2 separate regions of the Homo sapiens genome follow, and region 1 is linked to region 2. The links are contacts of gene promoters, found by promoter capture Hi-C in human tissues and cell types (Jung and others, 2019). All regions are on one chromosome and are shown on one strand. Each heading gives the region's core, a stretch centred on a gene start or on the middle of the fragment in contact. The rest is flanking DNA. Distances are from core to core; before and after follow the strand shown. Region 1 overlaps BRCA1 (BRCA1 DNA repair associated). Region 2 holds the start of BRCA1 (BRCA1 DNA repair associated).

Region 1 (3,365 bases), core at 258-2,757, 39 kb before region 2:
TTTTCAGGAGGTTTTTATGACCAGAAAATGTATTCCTAGCTTCACAAAGGTTTCTACTGCTACTCTAACACTGCTTTGCTGCCAAGGTCTGCAGCAATGCCATTGCCACCACGTGGTACTCGTGAGTAGTTACATCACTGATCAAACCCTAGCCAAAGTCTTGCCTCAGTCAACCTGGAATGAAAGCACATAGATATCTGACCAAAATGCTTCACAGGCTGTATTAGTCACTACTGTCACAACCATCACATCTAACCTCTACGTGGCCATTACATAAATCAGAAAAAGTAGTGGGGTAATTATTAATAGATAACTTTCCTTTGGGTTTCCCAAAGGAATTATTTTTTATAACTTAGACAAATTCCCCAGCAGGTAAGTGGCCAAATACATTAGGGAGAATAAAACCAATAGGTTTCTAAGACTTCTTGATTCTAATTCTGAAGTGCTCCTTCAATTAGCTCTAGCCTTCTACTTCTACTATGCTGCTCTGATCTCTACTTTTAATACAGCTACATTACTGTAGAAGTTCCCTAAAAGCCTTGTTTATCATGTCTTTTTCTTCCATAAAGACCCTTAGTGCTCCATCCTGGCCATCACAGTGAAACACTGGCTGAGGCAGAAGAATCACTTGAACCCAGGTGGCGGAAGTGCAGTGAGCTGAGATCGTGCCACGGCACTCCAGCCTGGGCAACAGAGCAAAACTCTGTCTCAAAAAAAAAAAGAAAAGAAAAAAACCCTTAGTGGTATACCACTGCTGATTTATACTTTTTGAACACTATATAATTGTTAGTCATTACTGCCATTAGGATAAAATTCCTCAACATAGCATTCAAAAGGCCCTTTATACCCTGGTATTATCTCTCATTTCTCCCAACACCCCTCACACAAGTTGTTTTCCTATAACACATGACAACTTTACGTTTCCTGGGAATTCCATGACTCTGTACCTTTACCTTACTTGCTGCCACTCCTCTTTTTCCACTTGGAAAAATTCTCATCTTTCAAGGCCTAGTTTGAATGTCTCCTTAAGTCCCCACCAGGAGGAGTTGTGAAATATGAGAAGTAAGGGCAAGTGGGCAGAATGTGGCTAATTCTAATAAGACTCCTGAAATGTGCAGCAGAGCAGCCGGAACTGGTCTGGAGGGAAGCAGAGTGTATATCTGACCCTTGTTTGTTCACATTCATTACATATAAATATATATATAAAACCTTCCCATAAAACATGTGTATTTAATGAGTTAAAACTATTTCTAATGTTCCTACTACTACATAATAAGCCTAATCCAGATACAAGCTGAAGTCTTAGCACAAATAGTGGCTTTATCATGCTAGTTTTGTCGACATGTTGTGAATATTTTCAAATATACAGAAAACTTGAAGCAACTTTGCAATGAGTGTTTATATATCTACTACTTAGAATCTATAATTAACATTTCCTATATTTATTTTATCACATACATACACACACACACACACACACACACACACACACACACACAGAAGTCCCCACCAATAATCCATCTCCTATCGGGAACAGATGATCTCTCACTACTTGATTTACATTGCTAATGCATTAGTATACCCAAATGGAACACATGACCTTGATAGGAGGAAGCTTCCCTTAATCATATTTGTCTCCCTAATGCCTAGCAGACAGTAAGCACTCAGCAAGTGTTTATTAATGAGAAGATAAATTAATAAATAAGTATAGTTAATCAGTCTTCTGTAAAAACAAACAAAAACCCAGATATCAATGATACCAAATTAGGAATTCTCTATCATCTATATACTTTTTCTCGGTTCAGTACAAAAAGGGAAAAAAAAATCCCACTTCAATAGTTTTTCCTGCCTGTGCTACTTTAGACGTAAGACAGCCTGAAATCTGACTTCAACGGTTTTGGGTAGATGCTTAGTAAAAACACGTTGCAAAATGAATCCTGAACAAATAGACACATCTCTGGGAATAAGATTAGAAATACAGAAAAACAAGGACATTGTATATTGAATGTCAAATATAATACAGTATGGCTAAGGCAGATGTAATCAGAAATTGCAACCTTAAACTTTAAAACACAATGGACAGAATTAGATGATGGGTATATTGACAGAGTCCCAAACCCACATTCAAAAAGGATCATAGGAATTGCAAAGAGAGAAAAGGCCTCCTAAATCTTTTCATCAATTTAGTTGCCATGGCAATCCTGAAGAAGTGGAGAATACTGGTGACAGCTCAGATACAGAGTGGGGAGTCATCTCAAAGGTTTCTTGACAACTCCAAGGGGCTTCAGGTCTAGAGGGATTTGCTCTGTACAGAGAATGGGCAGTAGAAGATAAGCCTTCTCTAATTGTAGTTCTCATAGCAATGCAAGATTTAGATTTTAAAACTGGATATCACCCAGTGTTGGCAAGGTACAGGAAAATGGGAACTATCATATACCACAGGGGCTGGAAGAGCATAAACTGGTTTAATCTTTCTAAAAAACAATTTAGTAACATGTATCAAACACCAAAATCCTAGTCCCAGTAATTTAGACTAAGGAAATAATCAGGGATGTAGGCAAATATTTAGCTATCAGGATGCCACTATAGTGATGTACATAATAGCAAACTGTGCCTCTTACCCTGAAACCTCCAACATTCAGCAATAGGTCAAATAAATCATGATACACTGGAAAGATAGAATCCCATATAGTAATTAAAAATGAAGTCACTTAAGAATTTTAACGACCCAGGCTGAGTGCGGTGGCTCACGCCTGTAACCCCAGCACTTTGGGAGGCCGAGGTGGGTGGATCACTTGAGGCCAGGAGTTTGAGACCAGCCTGGTCAACATGGAGAAACCCTGTCTCTACTAAAAATACAAAGTTAGCTGGGCATGGTGGCACATGCCTGTAATCCCAGCTACTCGGGAGGCTGAGGCAGGAGAATCGCATGAACCCGGGAGGCAGAGGATGCGGTGAGCCAAGGTCACACCACTGCACTCCAGCCTGGGCAACAAGAGTGAAACTCCATCTCAGAAAAAAAAAAAAAAAAAGAAAAAAGAATTTTAATGATCCAGTAAAAGCTAGATTATAATGCACAGAATTATCTGGATTTCTTGTTTTTGAGACAGGGTCTCACCATATCACCCAGGATGGAGTGCAGTGGCACCATCATGGCTCACCACGGCCTCAACTTGCTGGGATCAAGCAATCCTACCCCAGCCACTCAAGTAGCTGAGACTACAGGTGTGCACCACTAAGCCTCACTAATTTTTTTTTTTTTCCCAGACAGGGGTTGCCCAGAACAGAGTGCAGTAGCGTGATCACAACTCACTGCAGCCTTGACCTCCGGGGCTCAGGCAATCTTCCTGCCTCACCCTCCCAAA
Region 2 (3,548 bases), core at 1-2,500:
AACTTTAACACATTAGAAAAACATATATATATATCTTTTTAAAAGGTTTATAAAATGACAACTTCATTTTATCATTTTAAAATAAAGTAAATTTAAGATTTGGAAGGTTTTAGAATAATACAAACCAAAGAACTAATGACAACGTCCTTTATTTTTAAAGATTCTAGAAGTTGCTTTTTGTAATTAGACAACATAAATTCTGAATTTTTTCACATATTGCTGCCAACCCCTTGGGTCTTTTCCTTTCTCCAAGAAAGAGAAAGCTACAGAGGAGTGACTGACCGGGTAGGTGGTGGTAGCCTTAGCTTTCTCCAATGTTTCTGGTTGTTTTCTTTTTCTTGCATAAAACCAAAATCAACAACGACCAAACCAACACCAATCAAGGCCTCCCCGCCCCTAACCTTTCCCAGTGACCTGCTCTCATCTCTGGATCCTCCTCAAGCACATCCCTGCCGGCAGCATCTGTTACTACTGACGCTCCTCTACTTCCCTCTTGCGCTTTCTCAATGGCGCAAATGGATCCAGTTCTTAAGTTCTCCCTCCCACAAAATCCTGTCTCCTCCCCTTCCCAGACATATTCCTGGCACCTCTTCTTCCACAAGGTCCCATCCTCTCATACATACCAGCCGGTGTTTTTTGTTTTGTTTTGTTTTGTTTTGTTTTGAGACAGTCTCGCTCTGTCGCCCAGGCTGGAGTGCAATGGCGCGATCTCGGCTCACTGCAACCTCCGCCTCCCGGGTTCTAGCGATTCTCCTGCCTCAGCCTCCTGAGTAGCTGGAGCGGCACCACGCCCGGCTAATTTTTGTATTTTTAGTAGAGACGGAGTTTCACCACGTTGGTCAGGCTGGTCTGGAACTCCTGACCTCATGACCAGCCGACGTTTTTAAAGACATAGTGTCCCCCTCAAGGCATATTCCAGTTCCTATCACGAGGATTCCCCCACGGACACTCAGTGCCCCCTTCCTGATCCTCAGCGCTTCCCTCGCGACCTACAAACTGCCCCCCTCCCCAGGGTTCACAACGCCTTACGCCTCTCAGGTTCCGCCCCTACCCCCCGTCAAAGAATACCCATCTGTCAGCTTCGGAAATCCACTCTCCCACGCCAGTACCCCAGAGCATCACTTGGGCCCCCTGTCCCTTTCCCGGGACTCTACTACCTTTACCCAGAGCAGAGGGTGAAGGCCTCCTGAGCGCAGGGGCCCAGTTATCTGAGAAACCCCACAGCCTGTCCCCCGTCCAGGAAGTCTCAGCGAGCTCACGCCGCGCAGTCGCAGTTTTAATTTATCTGTAATTCCCGCGCTTTTCCGTTGCCACGGAAACCAAGGGGCTACCGCTAAGCAGCAGCCTCTCAGAATACGAAATCAAGGTACAATCAGAGGATGGGAGGGACAGAAAGAGCCAAGCGTCTCTCGGGGCTCTGGATTGGCCACCCAGTCTGCCCCCGGATGACGTAAAAGGAAAGAGACGGAAGAGGAAGAATTCTACCTGAGTTTGCCATAAAGTGCCTGCCCTCTAGCCTCTACTCTTCCAGTTGCGGCTTATTGCATCACAGTAATTGCTGTACGAAGGTCAGAATCGCTACCTATTGTCCAAAGCAGTCGTAAGAAGAGGTCCCAATCCCCCACTCTTTCCGCCCTAATGGAGGTCTCCAGTTTCGGTAAATATAAGTAATAAGGATTGTTGGGGGGGTGGAGGGAAATAATTATTTCCAGCATGCGTTGCGGAATGAAAGGTCTTCGCCACAGTGTTCCTTAGAAACTGTAGTCTTATGGAGAGGAACATCCAATACCAGAGCGGGCACAATTCTCACGGAAATCCAGTGGATAGATTGGAGACCTGTGCGCGCTTGTACTTGTCAACAGTTATGGACTGGAGTGTTATGTTTTCGTATTTTGAAAGCAGAAACTAGGCCTTAAAAAGATACGTACAACTCTTTAGGGAGACTACAATTCCCATCCAGCCCCAGGAGTCTGGGGCAAGTAGTCTTGTAAGGTCAGTGGCCTGCGGGGACGCAGTGAGCGCCGAATTTGCCTGGGGCAGGGGAAATGCGCTCTGGCCCATGTCTGCGCACTCGTAGTTCCACCCCTCAGCCCCAGTGTTTGTTATTTTTCGGGTTCAGCTTGCTTTTGCCCCGTCTCCGTCGACGCAATCGCCACCAGTCAATGGGGTGGTCGTTTTGAGGGACAAGTGGTAAGAGCCAATCTTCTTGGCGAAAACGCGGAGAAACGGGACTAGTTACTGTCTTTGTCCGCCATGTTAGATTCACCCCACAGAGATAGCGGCAGAGCTGGCAGCGGACGGTCTTTGCATTGCCGCCTCCCCAGGGGGCGGGAAGCTGGTAAGGAAGCAGCCTGGGTTAGCTAGGGGTGGGGTCACGTCACACTAAGAGGGTTTGGAGAAGTTCAAGGGAGGAATCCTGCAAAGAAGAGGGGCGACTTTTTCCGTGTCTCCGGACAGCTAATCGTTTTAGTGACAGGATGAGAGAGCCCTTCGTGTTCTGAGGGACCGAGTGGGCGAAAAGCGCCGGAGAGTTGGAGAGTCTGTGGTTCAGAATGCGAGGTGACAACGTGCTAGCAGCCCTCGCTCGCTCTCGGCGCCTCCTCGGCCTTGGCGTCCATTCTGGCCGTGCTGGAGGAGCCCTTCAGCCCGCCACTGCGCTGTGGGGGCCCCTCTCTGGGCTGGCCGAAGCCAGAGCCGGCTCCCTCTGCTTGCGGGGAAGTGTGGAGGGAGAGGCGGGTGTGGGAACTGGGGCTGCGCGCAGCGCTCGCCAGCCAGCGCGAGTTCCAGGTGGGCGCGGGCTCAGCGGGCCCCGCACCCCCGGCCCCGGGCAGTCAGGGGCCTAGCACCCGGGCCAGCAGCTGCAGAGGGTGCGCCGGGTCCCCCAGCACTGCCGGCCCGCCTGCACCCCGCTTGAATTCTCACCGGGCCCCAGCCGCCCTGCACAGGGCAAGGCTCAGGACCTGCAGCCCGCCATGCCCGAGCCCCCTCCCAACCCCTGTGAGCTCCAGCGTGGCCTGAGCCTCCCCGACGGGCACCGCCCCCTGCTCCTCAGCGCCCGGTCCCATCGACTGCCCAAGGGCTGAGAGGAGTGCAGGCGCCCGGCACAGCCCTGCGCAGGATCCACTAGGTGAAGCCAGCTGGGCTCCTGAGTCAGATGGGGACTTGGAAAACTTTTATGTCTAGCCTGAGGATTTTATATGCACCAGTCAGCACTCTGTGTCTAGCTTGGGGTTTGGGGATGCACCAATCAGCACTCTGTATCTAGCTAATCTGGTGGGCACTTGGAGAACTTCTGTGTCTAGCTAAAGGATTGTAAATGCACCAATCAGTGCTCTGTGTCTAGCTCAAGGTTTGCAAATGCACCAATCAGCACTCTGTGTCTAGCTAAAGGTTTGTAAACGCACCAATCAGTGCTCTGTGTCTAGCAAATGTAGTGGGGACTTGGAGAATTTTTATGTCTAGCTAGAGGATTGTAAATGCACCAATCAGCACTCTGTGTATATCTAGCTCAGGGATTGTAAATGCACCAATCAGCACCCTGTCAAAAC

The links. Contacts are between HindIII fragments. The study calls those that stand out against the background at their distance.
Region 1: a fragment that was not itself captured here is called in contact with the fragment with the promoter of BRCA1 in region 2 in 1 of the 25 tissues and cell types used here (aorta).

Annotation. Positions count from the first base shown.
Region 1 is chr17:43,084,650-43,088,014 of GRCh38, forward strand. All of the region lies in intron 11 of BRCA1 (BRCA1 DNA repair associated), which reads right to left. Among named protein-coding and RNA genes, the nearest start is that of BRCA1, 39 kb to the right of the region's middle. The HindIII fragment of the contact is 3,426 bases long and covers 1-3,220 here.
Region 2 is chr17:43,124,114-43,127,661 of GRCh38, forward strand. It overlaps BRCA1 (BRCA1 DNA repair associated), which reads right to left and starts at 1,251. Exons shown (of 23, transcript NM_007294.4): 1 at 1,158-1,251; 2 at 1-2. It overlaps NBR2 (neighbor of BRCA1 lncRNA 2), which reads left to right and starts at 1,444. Exons shown (of 8, transcript NR_138145.1): 1 at 1,444-1,657. RefSeq lists silencers at 547-582, 2,606-2,623, promoters at 1,236-2,992, 1,236-1,502, cis regulatory regions at 1,303-1,325, 1,487-1,495, 2,172-2,201, 2,552-2,581 and enhancers at 1,303-1,325, 1,432-1,561, 1,458-1,482, 1,612-1,701, 2,630-3,443. The HindIII fragment of the contact is 12,987 bases long and covers 1-3,548 here.